2 separate regions of the Homo sapiens genome follow, and region 2 is linked to region 1. The links are contacts of gene promoters, found by promoter capture Hi-C in blood cells and fetal thymus (Javierre and others, 2016). All regions are on one chromosome and are shown on one strand. Each heading gives the region's core, a stretch centred on a gene start or on the middle of the fragment in contact. The rest is flanking DNA. Distances are from core to core; before and after follow the strand shown. Region 1 holds the start of RPS4Y1 (ribosomal protein S4 Y-linked 1). Region 2 overlaps ZFY (zinc finger protein Y-linked).

What was found. The method cuts DNA at HindIII sites, captures the fragments that hold promoters and counts their contacts. A CHiCAGO score of 5 or more calls a contact.
Region 2: a fragment that was not itself captured here is called in contact with the fragment with the promoter of RPS4Y1 in region 1 in 1 of 17 cell types (naive CD8 T cells); the score reaches 7.0 in naive CD8 T cells.

The regions. Positions count from the first base shown.
Region 1 is chrY:2,837,586-2,844,988 of GRCh38, reverse strand. It overlaps RPS4Y1 (ribosomal protein S4 Y-linked 1), which reads right to left and starts at 3,387. Exons shown (of 7, transcript NM_001008.4): 1 at 3,362-3,387; 2 at 2,747-2,824; 3 at 732-912. The coding sequence starts at 3,364. The HindIII fragment of the contact is 6,443 bases long and covers 291-6,733 here.
Region 2 is chrY:2,967,608-2,975,010 of GRCh38, reverse strand. The region is part of intron 3 of ZFY (zinc finger protein Y-linked); the gene reads right to left. All of the region lies in intron 2 of ZFY-AS1 (ZFY antisense RNA 1), which reads left to right. Among named protein-coding and RNA genes, the nearest start is that of ZFY-AS1, 31 kb to the left of the region's middle. The HindIII fragment of the contact is 5,375 bases long and covers 326-5,700 here.

The DNA of each region.
Region 1 (7,403 bases), core at 2,138-4,637:
AGCTGTACTGAGCCTTTCACCATGAAAAGGGTGAACAAAGCACTAGGTCAGAATTCCTTACCTTTCCCTACCTTCCCTCTTGGTACACTTTTTCCCTAGAGGTGTGTGACCCTTCTGCCCCTCCTCCACCCTCCCCGCCAAAAAAAGCTGCAAATCCATCCTTGGAGATCCAGAATAGTTAAGTCATCAACGAAGTGGGAAGACAGAGCCAAAACCCTGTTCACTGACAAAGATTCTCTCCTTGACCAATCGTTAGCCAGTTTCCTCTGAGCCCTCTTCTTGGCTAAGCTTCAACCTTGACCTATGAAGACCTCAACACTAACACAGCTTCTAAAAGCTCAAGATGAGCCCAGTCTGCCTCAAAATGCCTGCCTGAGAAAACTCAAGGCTGCCAAAAGAATTTACTGTTTGTTCCAGCCAACACCTAAGGACAGCTCCTCTGTCTCCCAGTCTCTGCCGGGAAGGTAGGAGCCTAACTTTGATAATCCGCCAGCATGCAGCCACTGCTGGCCTCATCCCATTTACATTATCAACCCCTTTCCAGCTTTTCACTTGAGCCTTGCCACTCCTCTCCCTATCCCTCATTCTCCTTCTGAAAGGACCAGCAGTAACTTCTGCAGAAATCTGAAGTTCAGTGTCCAGTTTTATCACTGGCAACATGAGAGCCCTACATCTTGTCCTTCTCTCAACCTGTTCCTTCTTCAAAACAAAACAAAGAACTCTTTCCTTACCCATGAATCCAGCAGGGTATGTGACATCCACTCGAACCTTGCCATCAATTTTGATGAAACGTTGCATACATATCTTCTTTACCTCATCTCCAGTCAACGCATACTTGAGTCTATTCCTGAGGAAGACGATCAGAGGAAGACATTCCCTCAGCTTGTGGGGACCTGTCGATGGACGAGGTGCCTGTAGAAGACAAGGAAAGGTAACCTAATCTAAGAAGATCCACTCCTTATGTAACCAGATTGAGCAGATGACGTACTTTAGTTCTGCATAAGTTCAGCTGAACTTAACTTGTTGTGGGGAAGAGGAATACAAGAGGGCAATTATTTTATTAGTTTAGAGGTCTGTCTTGTTAGGAAGGTCATATCCCCAACCATGGAAATCTCATTTTGTGCCCCTTCCTTCCCCAAATCTAGCCTCACAACCATCTCCCCATTTTGCCCTGCCCCAAGCACCACTGCCACTCATACTCCTTCTTCAAACCTCCCTTGAACACAACACTACATCCCATGTATCTCAAGTGTAGCTTACGCTTTACCCAAAACCTTATGAAGACATATTCTACTACTCTCTCACCATGCCAGGCTTCAAAGTTCCACACAAGCCCTGCCGATGTTGCAGGACCACCCTGTAATACCCAATGTGCGTTCCTCCTCTCTTGGCTGCTTGCCGGCTTAAGTGTCATCAAATTCACACCGCAACAAATCCTGTAACCTATACTCTCGCAGTTTTGGTGTTATACTGTCCTTAGGATATCTGCTACCAGTACATATAAAAGTCTCAAGGTCTGTCTTGAACACCACTCCCCAATTACCTTTTAAGTTTGGATCACACAAGAATCTCTTCCAATGGAGACCGTTCAAGCTGCTTCTACAGATCCCTCTCTAGCTTTGTCTCTCTTAAAACGGACTCGCGATCATTAACCACACACTTTCATCAATGTCACAGGGAAAAGGAGAGGAACCCACAAGACTAAGGGACCAAGTTCCCAGCAAGTCTTCTTAAAGAGTGCCTTGCTCATCCACTTAACAATAGAGAAAACAATGGCCCATCCAGGGAGGTCAAATAGTAGGTGACAGTAGCAGAGGTAGCACTTGGAAGCAGAAACTGACAGGGACAGGTTGCAAATCCAGGTCCCCAGCCAACACACTGCCTATGTTCTCTCTGAAAATATCAGAACAAGGAAGACAAGTTTCTACTACTCAGTGTTCAGAGTTCAAACTGTACCAAGAAGAGGCCAAATCAAGTTAGTTACTAAGTGCCTCCTAAATGGAGACCCTCAGAGCTAAATATAGTCTCTTACCACATTTATTCCTGCTCAAAAAACCCTTGGCATCTTAAGCGCCTCGATTCTGTCTTCTTCACACTGGCTCCTCTCTGTCTCAGAAGACCAAGACTTTACAGTTTTAACCACTCTCTCCTAGTGTGACCACACCATCAATGTGGAAATTGCCTAGTCTCCTTGTGAGATGCTTGCCTACTGTGCCTCTGAGTATACTGCCCTCATCCTGCCAGGTCTTCAAGGTTGGGTTCAAGAGCCTCCAGACTTTCTCACACAACTTCTTGCCCTTGTTTCGTGGGCTCCTGTAGCCTTTACTATTAAACCAGTAACTCGGGCTCAACGTAAAAAGCAGCTACTCCACCCTCTAAAACAAGGGGTAACTTTAAATTAAACGCATTTGATTATTAATGGGGGACTCAGCGGACTGTCACTGAACTCCTTTCTTATGTGGAATTGGACACATTCATTAACCCACCCAGCTCTGGGCTCAGGAAGTGCCCTCTGAAGTGGCGAGCTAAAAGAGCAAAGGAAACCATCGGGACGTGACATCCTGGCCCTTTGTTGCACAGAAAAGTGCAAGGACAAGTTCAGGGTGCGGGAAGTCTTTACCAACGAAAATCCCACATAACAAACAAGCAAACGCCGCCCCCAAGAAATACCGAGCCACAGGTATTTAGCATGCACTCTTGACTAAAAAAAACAAAAAAAAACCACAAAAAACAAAGTTATACTCACAAATACACCCGTTAGTTTGTCAAGCATCCAATGCTTCGGCGCTGCAACACGCTTTAAGTGCTTCTTGGGGCCCCGGGCCTGAAAAGGACACGAAACTCAGAGAAATTAGTTTCCGCTGACAGTGAAATGCCCTCATCTTCAGCTGTAGGAACTGCTAACGGGTAATACCTGACTCAAGGAGAAAAGATCGCCCAGCCCATACTCAAGCCCCGTTTTGAACAAATATTACTTCCTGCCAGACCCCAGAAGAGACCACGCAAAGCACAGACCTTTGAAAACTTGGCGGGTCTCCCTAGCATCCGTCAAGAGAGCGTCCACAGTGCTCTCCAAGCGAATCTGAGGCTGCTTCAACGTGTGAAAATAAGCTAATCCGGGTAAAAAGCCACTGCCGGGCTGCGTCAAGGATGGACTCACGTGACGGCCCCCAGACCGAGCACAACGAGACACACTCTTCTCAGACCTCCCCTCTCCAAATCGGGTTTCCTGAAGCAGCACCAGCAGCATTCCCACCCACCAAGTAGGGGCGACCGAAAAGTGAAACATCGCCAAGGTAGAACGGCCCTTTTTCAAATGATGGAGGCAGATATACTAGGAGTTAGGAACTATCGGTCTTACCATGGCGAAACTCTGCGACGGAAGAGAATCTGTTCTTTTCCGGTGCAACCAAAGTCTGTTGTCGTAAACCGCAGGAAGTCAGATGAGTGAGAAGTTTAGTTCCGGTTTCTTATTCTTCCGCTGTAGAGTTCATATCCTGGAACTGAATTTCTTAGCATTTTCAGTTTCTGATACTGATTTACAGGTGTCAGTTATGCCGCAGGACTTTTTGTTGTGCCTACCCCCCGTCAAGTTGGCTGAGCTGGGAGGACGCAGTTTACACTCTTAAACTTATCTTTCGCCGACCTTCAAAATATTTAGCAAAAGTCCTGAAACAGCACGATTTAGGAGCCTTAAAAAAAAATGCCAATCGTGAGAAATAACCTATATGATTCCTTGTGACTGTGACATGCTGTGATTGCAAAATCATGATTTGTTTCAGAGACAAATCATTCCTTGTTCAGGATTGGGGCCAATTTCATAGGTTTGGGAAAGTACTAAAATCGTCTGTACCGTAAACATTGAAAGGATAGGTTTCATGGCATTTGAATTTTAAGTCGAATACCTTGCTTTGGATTAGCTCGTGATGATGGCTGCACAGCTCTGTCCATGTCGTAAAACCTGCAAAACAATTCACTTTTAAGAGAGTGAAGTCCGCTATGTAAGTTGTACTGCGCAGGCGTGTGTGTGGTCACAGCTTCCATTGGAATTTTTCACGCGCGTCCGCCTGACAGAATTGATATACAAAAAACAACCAGCCAGGCCGGGCACGGTGGCTCACTTCTGTAATCCCAGCTCTTTGGGAGGCCGAGGTGGGCGGATCACGAGGTCAGGAGATCGAGACCATCCTGGCTAACACGGTGAAACCTCGTCTCTACTAAAAATAAAAATACAAAAAATTAGCCGGGCGTGGTGGCGGGCGCCTGTAGTCCCAGCTACTCGGGAGGCTGAGGCAGGAGAATGGCGTGAACCCGGGAGGCGGAGCTTGCAGTGAGCCGAGATCGCGCCACTGCACTCCAGCCTGGGTGACAGAGCAAGACTCCGTCTCAAAATAAACTAAATTAAATTAAATTAAAACAAAAAAACAACCAGTCAAATGAAGCTGCACTTCCTTAATGTGTACAATTTGATGAGTATGGACATAGGCGTAAATCCACGATACCACCATCACAATCGAGGTAATGAACATCTCCATCACCTCCAAAAGTTTCCTTGTGTTCCTTTCTGGTTATTCTCTCTCTCTCTCTCTCTCTCTCTCTCTCTCTCTCTCTCTCTCTCGGCCAGTGCACAGGTTGGTTTCATACATTTTAGGAAGGCAAGATGTAAGATGTACATGGTGCAGGACATTGGGGTGGCTTGGTGGGGGGCTGGGGCAGTGGGAAGGTAGAGTTTGATGTCGTAAGAGACAAATGGTTGCATTATTTTGGGTCTCTGATCAGCCTTTCACTAAATACACAATTTAACTGTAACAGGAAAGGTAGAGGCCGGGTGTGGCAGCTCACACCTGTAATCCCAGCACTTTTGGAAGCTGAGGCAGATGGATCACCTGAGGTTGGGAGTTCAAGACCAGCCTGACCAACATGGAGAAACCCTGTTTCTACTAAAAATGCAAAAATTATCTGGGCGTGTTGGCACATGCCTGTAATCCCAGCTACTCAGGAGGCTGAGGCAGGAGAATCGCTTTGGAAACTCTGTCAAAAAAAAAAAAAAAAAACAGGAAGGGTAGAGGAATAGTCAATTACTTTCATAGTCTGGCTCAGTGAGTCTGTATTTTTACATAAACAGTGTAGCAGAGGAAACAATGAGATAGGCATTTGTTGCAGATGTGCACATGGAGGACTTTCTGTCTTGCACCTGTGAAGATGAGCTACCAATGTAGGTCGCCAGGGTGAAATTAAACAGAACTGCTTTGGAGTAAAGATCTTGAGGTGCATGGCTGGGCGTAGAACCTCTGCGCTTTCCAATTTGAGACCCTTGGTGGGCAGTGCCTAAACACAGAGGCAACTGCAGGTTTCTGGCTGTGGGCAGTGAATCTAGGAGTTTCCGTGTGGAGGCACCAAATCACCACTGCTCAGTTTGTTTAAGGTATCTGGGTCTTTTATAATTTTTTTTTTCTTTTCTTTTTTGGTCTTTCAGTGGCTGTTTCCCTGTAGTTCCTTGGAAATTGAGGGCAATTAGCTAGGATCACTCTCTTGTGTTACCTGAATGCCAAGGAGTGAATAGGAATAATTGTCCTGTCCAGAAGGGGGAAGGACCTTTTTTTTTTTTTTAATCTGTTCCAGGTGTGGTCCCTGATTCCTATGTGTGATGCAGCTCAGAGTAGACTTGCAAATGTTGCAGGAGATGTAAACCTTCTTTTCTTATTCTCCCGTTATCCTACTCAACTGGCTAAGAACAAAAAACGAACCCAGCTTCCAGTTCCTATCATTAACGTTCATGGAATGGGAAGCATGGGAAATCATGGCCTTATCAAATTATAAGGATGCCAGCAGTCAAGCCTTTCCTGCAGTGACAAAAATGAAAGCTCATAGTAGAGGCGGGCAGATCACGAGCTCAGGAGATCAAGACGATCCTGGCTAACACGGTGAAACGCTGTCTCTACTGAAAATACAAAAAAGTAGCCAGGCATGGTGGCACGTGCCTGTAGTCCCAGCTACTCGGGAGGCTGAGGCAGGAGAATCGCTTGAATGTGTGAGGCAGAGGTTGCAGTGAGCCGAGATCGCGACACTGCACTCCAGCCTGGGTAGCAGAGCCAGACTCTGTCTCAAAAAAAAGACCTTGAGGTCCACAATGAATTTCTCTTTTGGGGCAATTGTGAGGAATCTATGTAGCTTTTTTTTTTTTTTTTCCTGAGACAGAGTCTTTCTCTGTCACCCAGGCTGGAGTGCAGTGGCACGATCTCAGCTCACTGCAAGCTCGCCTCCCAGGTTCACGCCATTCTCCTGCCTCCGCCTCCCAAGTTGCTGTTACTACAGGCGCCCACCACCATGCCTGGCTAATATATATATATATATTTTTTTGTATTTTTAGTAGAGACGGGGTTTCACCACGTTAGCCAGGATGGTCTTGATCACCTGACCTCGTGATGCACCCGTCTCAGCCTCCGAAAGTGCTGGGATTACAGGCATGAGCCACCGCTCCCGGCCCTATGTAGCTTTTTTTTTTAGCTTTGTCTTATTCTCATCTCAGGTTTGCCTGCCACAGTTCCCAGCTTGACTTTTCTCTTTGGCCTCGTAGTGATTTGGGGGTTCCAACATTTATTTTTCCTTTCACACTCTCTTAGTTGAGTAGTGCCATATGCATAATTTCAAAATAATCAAGGTGTAAGAAAATGTAACAAACTACTTGGCAATATACACTCCTACCTTAAATCAGGGATTGGGTGATAAAGCTTCCTTCCAAACAGTAAGCAAATTGATGTGTTTACTGAGCACTTATTCTGTGCCAGGCATGCGTTTTCACTTTTCACATGGCCTAAGTGTGTTGAAAGAGCCTTAGCCAAACAGGCTAAGGGATGTGGTAATGTGGCAGGCCAGGTCTCACTAACACAGGCCTCTATAACAACTGTTTCAGCACTGACTGATGGGTTAAGTTAAATATTAAAAGCTGAAAAAGCCAGTGTCCTTATACAAAGGCTGGAATGCAACAAAAGTCCACCAAGAGTTTTCCCCAGGCCTTTCCTGAACCTTAAAAGCATGATTAAACAAGTTTTACTGGGGATCTGAAGAAACTCTTCAGGCCTTCACAAAAAAGTTTCTTAGGGGGTCTGAAGGAACTTCTCAAACCTTTATGATTTAGCAGGTGACAAGTATAATCATCCCAGCACCTGCACCCACTGAGATTAAGCAAATTTACGGAGACTCCAGAGGAAAGTCTTCAGGACTCAGACCTTGCTTGTAGATTAAAAGAAGTATTCACATATGTCTTTAGATGAATGCACACTTACATGTAGATATAGAGCTTAGAAGCTATAGAAGCTCTGGAAAACTTTGTAATTTTGAGTCGGCCTGGCAATAATTTCCAGGCCTTCTCCCTGTAACCGCTTGTAGAAATAAAAACTCTT
Region 2 (7,403 bases), core at 1,764-4,263, 130 kb before region 1:
TTGTTTATCATAAAGTAAAAGCATACAATATTACAAGTATTCTGTTTTATTTTTTGAGATGGGGTCTTTTCTTTTTCTGTCATTCAGGCTAGAGTACAGTGGCACAATTATAGTTCACTGCACCTTTGACCTCCAGAACTCAAACAATCCTCCTGTCTCAGCCTACTTGAGTAGCTGGGACAAAAGGCGTATGCCACCATGCTCAGCTAATTTTTTTATTTCTTTGTACAGACAAGGTCTCACTGGTTTTCTCTAGCTTATCTCCAACTCTTGGGCTCAAGCAATCCTCCCACCTCAGCCTCACAAAATGCTGGGATTACAAGCTTGAGCCACTGCATCCAGCTTACCAATGTTCTTGAAGATCTGAAAAATAATGTCCTACTAGTAAATTCAGTACACACTAGTCCTAATATATTTTATGAGCATTACCTAACATTCAGTACTTCTGAATACAATTGTCTTATCTGTTCTATGAGAATCATAAACTTTTTAAAAATCAAAATATGGTTGTCAGAAACATAAATTCTGGCTGGCCATGGTGGCACATGTCTGTAATCCCAGCACTTTGGGAGGCCGATGCAGCGGATCACCTGAGGTCAGGAGTTTGAGACCAGCCTGGCCAACATAGTGAAACCTCTGTCTCCACTAAAAATGCAAAAAAATGAGTTGGGCATGGTGGCAGGAGCCTGTAGTACCAGCTACTCAGGAGGCTGAGGCAGGAAAATCACTTGAACCCGGGAGGCAGAGGTTGCAGTGAGTCAAGATTGCACCACTGTACTCCAGTCTGGATGACAGAGTGAAACTGTCTCAATAAATAAATAAATAAATAAATAAATAAATAAATAGTTGTAAATTCTGATATTAACCTGTTCAAACCTAACACTACACACACATGCATTTTTAAAAAAAACCACACACACAAAACATATATATGAGTTCTAATGAGTCTGGGTCTACTGCTGGCAAATACAGTAAGATGTATACTTAAGTATCTTCTTAAATACTTAAGGCAGCCTGTTTCATGTTTATGTATTAAAAAAAAAAAAAAGAATCCTTACTTACCGATAAAGTGAACATATGATTTCCAACAGTGGGCTCAGGGAATCTACAACAAACTTTTAAGTGTTACACGGTAAGGGAATCAAGTGTGGTGTTATGCTTGGGACTTCAAAATTAACAAAAGTAAAAAATAATGTCTTAAAAAATACATTCTGGATTGCAGTAAATACCAAAAATACAACCCCCATATAATGTAACCTTACACTACACACCACTGTGGGCACTGACTACTATCTTTAGCATAACAGAAAGTGTGGCACAGACTAATGAACACATAGCACATAGTACAATTTAATTTATCACAAAAATTGGATTTTTCAATGTTTGGTCCATTAGAGAAACACTAAGTAATGTTCTCTCTGTTCTGGGCCCACCTGGTCAGTATGACACAGCAAGAGACCAACCACAGAGGAGGAGGACCCCAAGAAGTTTTTTCATTTCCCCTTTCCCATTTTAGTTTTGTTTTTGTAATCCTCTGCTGAATATATTTCATTATCCTTTTGGCTAAATGTTTATGTTTAAGTCAATTAAACAATGATTCACAACTATCAATCAGACTCTGGGCAAGTATTAGAGGTGCAAACTTTAAAAGAAACTGACCCAAGGCCAGGCGTGGTGACTCACACCTGTAATCCCAGGGCTTTGGGAGGTGGACGTGAGTGGATTGCTTGAGGCCAGCCTGGCCAACATGGCAAAACATGTTTTCTACTGAAAATACAAAAATTAGCTGGGCATAATGACACATGCCTGTAATCCCAGCTTCTTGGGAGTCCGAGGCACAAGAATCGTTTAAACCCAGGAGGCAGAGGTTGCAGTGAGCTAAGATCTCACCACTGCACGCAAACATGGGCAACAGAGAAAGGCTGTCTCCAAAAAAAAAAAAAAAAAGTAATGGACCCAAGAAATTTGTAATTCAGTGAAAAAGCAGACAGGTGAACAGATGATTATTTTAAAATGTGATCATAATAATGTAGTTACTTTTTATTAAGTGATTACTGAAAGCATTACTTAATACTCATAACTCCATGAGGAAGTGCTATAATACTGTCGACATTTTACAGTAAAGCAAACTGAAGTTTAGAAAACTTGAATGATTTATCTAAGGTCACACATCTAGTAACTGGCAAAACCAGAATTCAAATCTTGATCCATGTAATTCACAAGAAACCACCATCAACCTCTGGTGTTTGAAGAATGCTGTTAAGTTTAAATTGTTAGAGGCAATAATAATTTTTTGTAAGAAATAAAGAACAGTATAACAAAAGATGTTTTTCATTAGTGTAGAGCAGATAAATGTATTCACAACTCAACTACAATAAGCATTACTTACAAAAGGCAATGGTAATAGTTTTGACTATTTTAGGTTTTAAATTCTTAGTCTTAACTTTCAGCAGTGGCTTATAAACACAGAATTTAGATTTTGAAATCTCTGCATACTTTTCAAATTCCCCGTCTTGTTCTTCAAAAGATCCAAAACTATATTTGTCTAATCAAAATTATCTAAAGCCAACATAAAAAAAACAAAAATACAATGACGATATAATTTAGTTTCTTACTAGAAATTATGGACTACTTTCAAATAGCATCTCCTTGTTACAAACACGGATATTATAAAATCTAACTACTTAACCTACAATATGAGAACTTGAAACACTGGGCTACTAAAAGCAACTAAAACTTAACTACTTAAACACAAGATGTAAGAACCCAAAACAATGGGGAAAAGAGTTTTTTTGTCTATTTTGGATACAGTAACATTGGCAAATCACATTTTAATATACACTTGTCTTCAAAACAAAATGTCACTTAGACACTACCTGATTCCTTAAAGTAAATTTAAAAGATTACTTAGAAGAAAAAGTTAAAATCTCTCTTTTTTTTTTTTTTTTTTTTGAGATAGGAGTCTCAGTTACTCAGGCTGGAGTGCACTGGCGCTATCTCAGCTCACGGCAACTCCCAAGTTCAAGTGACTCTCCTGCCTCTGCCTCCCAAATAGCTGCGATTACAGGCATTGCCATCAAGCATTGTTAATTTTTGCATTTTTAGTAGAGATGGGGTTTTGCCATATTAGCCAGGCTGGTCTTGAACTTCCCGACCTCAAGTGATCCACTTGCCTCAGTCTCCCAAAGTGCTGGGATTACAGGCTCAGGCCACTGCACTTGGCCTAAAATTTCTTTAAACATAAAAATATACTAATTTTGAACTCTAGTGCAATCTTTAATGTTAACATTGGTGTAAATTATTTTTATTAAAATTGATTCATTTTCTCATCCAATGAAATAATATTTTATAAATTTTCAAGGTGTCCATATGAGTGTTACTATAAAACAGGCTGGGGAGTCAGAAACGTTTTGGCAAATGTTGCAAAGTGCAATAACAGCTGCCACAAAAAAAAGTGAAGGTACGTTATGTAGACTGGAAGAGAATGGCACTTATTCTATGCAAAGGATACAGCAGGTAGGGGGACAGGACAGTAAGAGAGTGTGTTCTTCAATACTGCTGCAAATTAGGCCATAGTGGGAAATGTGAACTACAGGTAAAGCAAAACCAGGTCATGGAGGACTTTATGCACCAGGCAGAGGGGCTCAAACTTAATTCTGGTAGACTGCAAGTTTCTCAATCTGATTAAAACCAGATCTGCAGGTATGGAATGAACTTGTATACAAAATAGACTTCAAGGTATCCTACTCTTGGGGATTCTTATCAGAGATCTGATAATTTCTGCTTTTAAAAAGACCAGTCACTAAGATCAGTATTTTTGCCAAAGCATCCTGCTGGCCTTATAAAAAAGCAGATTTGAAGAGATCAAGAAATGAAGCAGGGCACTACAGCTTCAAGTACATTTAGGTGACAGATAATGAAGCCTTGAATCAGGACAGAGGTAGTATAAATTGGGATAAAGGCTGGAGTTGGGTCATATTTAAGAATAAACTGAGAAGACGGAATGAATGACATATGAAGCCACCTACAGAATATTCAACTCTGAAAGCTGAAGATCAACACCAATTTGGAAGCCATCAGCAAACTGCAGTGTAAAGAAAATCATGAGCTGTAAAGAAATCATGAGTGTAAAGAAAATCACAGTCCCAGTGAGATTACAATTTAAGGCAGGGGCAAGAAAGAATTCACAAATTAACCTAAGTAGTAAAAGCTGGAGAGGTAATTGGAAGGGCATGAAACAAGCTAGGGAGTTAAAGATTCCAATAATGCTAGTAAAACCTGCTGTAATAACACAAGCCAATCAGCTACGAAAGGGAGAGGTGAGGAAATGAGAAGGATGTCTGTCTTTATAATTCACAGCTTAATTTTTAGCTAGTCATGTTATCTCACTTCTCTTTGTTTTCCTCAGAAAAAGAATTACAGTTTTGCTGACAAAAAAAATTGGATGTTGGATTTCCACTGGACTGCATTTTGTCTAAATTAATATCATAAAAACGTTGCTATTCTTTTGCTTTGCAGTCTTACAATGCAAGAACATGGCTTGTGCCTCTCCACTCAAATTGTCTCATCTTTCAAAACCAGGTTGTTAAAGTTCATTTACCACCAACCTCAGAAACAAACAGTTTACCTGATTTCTCTCTCCTAAGGTTTCCAACCAAACACCCTGACATTGGTATCAATGGTATCAAGAAAATTGGTATCAATTTTCTGTCTTCTTAAAAGAAAGATCCAGTTACTTTACCCTCCAGCCCTAGTCTCTAGCACTCCTTTTCCTACCAAGTAAAATACAAATTGCACAGTCTAGCAACCAAAATCTGCCCAAACTCCTTTGGTCTTTACAGTATTATTGTCCTCAATATCTCATGGGCCCCAAATTTAAACAATACTATTTTATTATTTATTCCCTTATGCTTCTTCAACTTTGCCCTAAAAGATAGCTTTTTCTTGAGATGATCCACTTTAATATTTAAGAAACTACTTAAAAATTAAAGAGTGCTCAAAAACAAACCATCTGAAATATGAATAGAATTTACAATAATATTATTCAGATATTTCTCAATGCATATATATAAGTAAAAGAACAGAAAGGACAAATACAAGTTTAAAATTAAAATTGAAATGTTACTTTTAAACAAAAATTTTATAGCAATTTGAACAAGTAAAACAGCTTAATTCCATGGCTGGTCATTCTAACTGTTCTCTTGCATATTTTTTCAACTCCTATGCCCCTGACTGATTTCATAATACTTGGCTGGCAAAACCACAAACCTGCCTGATATAATTTATGTCAGCATCTACATCTATGCAGCTAAGTCTAGATAGAAAAAAAAAGCATGATGTAGATAGCATCATCTTTAAATATACAATATGAATCTTGAGTAGATGCTATTTGCCATATTTTTCTTAAAATTCCAATACTGCCTGCCTGTTGATCTTATTTCCCACCTTACGAAGAACCCAAAACAGAAAAGATGATCTGCTGTCTGCCACATCTGTCCTACTGTCAACAACTAATTCACAAACTTTGTATTTCCTGCACACTGCCACAGACAAGCAGTGTTCCTTTCCACTTAAAAACAATACCTCCACATAAGCACTAAATTATACCTTCTCTTTTCTGTTTTTTTGCAGTTATCCCTTAAACCATCAATTTATCTATCACCCAGTAAAGGAACACTCCCATCAGGAAACAAATAAGCTTTTTCTCTTGAAACAACACTAAAACAAACAAAAATTCCATCTCCTCTTGATCCCACTTCTCCTGCAAGCAACTGTTTCATATCTCCAGTGATTCTCATTGCACATTCTTTCTCTAAACTTATTTAATACTTCCATCAAGCTTTTGTCCATGATTTCACTGAATCTGTTCACCAAAGACATACATGACCAATTCTGAGTCCTCATCTGACTTGCCTAAGTTGCTGCATTTGATGCAAACTGTCACTGTCCTCTCTACTAAGATTAATACATGCATTTCCTTTTTGAAGTTTATGATACAACTCAAACTGAAGTCTATGACAAACTGTCATCCTTCCAGCAAGGCATCCTTGACCATCTCTGAAACTCACAATCATTTTGATTAAACTCTTCTACTTTCCCAAGACACATTCTAATATACATTTAAATAATTTGATACAGGTACAGCCATACTACAAGTCCACAATGATGAGAGAAAGGAATCTCTATTTTGTGCACTGATGTATCTCAAGACTTGACAATACTGTCTAGCCTTAGTAACTATCTAACATTCAATTTGTTATATGAATGATGATCAATTAAATGTCTATTAATTCAAGAGAAGATTTTAAAATACTCTAAGAAAAATACGATAAAAATAATAGGTAGGAATCATATTGTAAAGATATTATCTACTGTCACCTGCTATAAAAGATGAAAACAACCGGGCACAGTGGCTCACACCTGTAATCCCAGCACTTTGGGAGGCAGAGGCGGGCGGTTCATGAGGTCAGGAGATTGAGACCGTCCTGGCTAACACGGTGAAACCCGTCTCTACTAAAAATACAAAAAAGAGACTACCCAGGCATGGTGGCAGGCACCTGTAGTCTCAGCTACTTGGGATTCTGAGGCAGGAGAATGGCGTGAACCCAGCAGGCGGAGCTTGCAGTGAGCTGAGATCCTGCCACTGCACTCCCGCCTGGGTGACAGAGCAAGACTCCGTCTCAAAAAAAAAAAAAAAAAAAGTGAAAACATGAACATATTTGCACATCATGCCACGGCAAATATTTTCGTTAATATTTTGTAGACATTTACCATGTTACATAACCTTAATTTGTATAAATGTTTACTCCAATTTTACATTAAATTAATTCAAAAATCACTACTCATTATTTTATCAGTTCTCCATTCTTGAGTCTTTTTCTACTAATTCATCTTTTGGTTTATGGTACCAAGCAGCAACTCCATCACACATGGGTGTTAAAATTTCTGAAATCCTGGATGTTTGAAAATGTCTACCTGTAATTTTGACTTGAATAATTTGTCTGGGTATAAAATTCTTAAGCTATACTTTCCTCAGAAACTTTAGGCTTTGTTGCACTGTGTATAGCATTGAGTATTTTGATGTGGGTGACTATATAATTCTTGATCCTTAAGTTCATTAATATAATGATGATTATTAATAGTTTTTACTGGGTGTGGTGGCTAATGCCTGTCATCCCAGCACTTTGGGAGGCCGAGGTGGGTAGATCACCTGAGGTCAGGAGTTCAAGACCAGCCTGACCAACAAGGTGAAACCCCATCTCTACTGAAAATACAAACATTAGCCAAGCATGGTGGCAGGCACCTGTAGTCCCAGCTACTCGCGAGGCTGAGACAGGATAATTTCTTGAACCCAGGAGGCGGAGGTTACAGCGAGCCGAGATTGAGCCACTGCACTCCAGCCT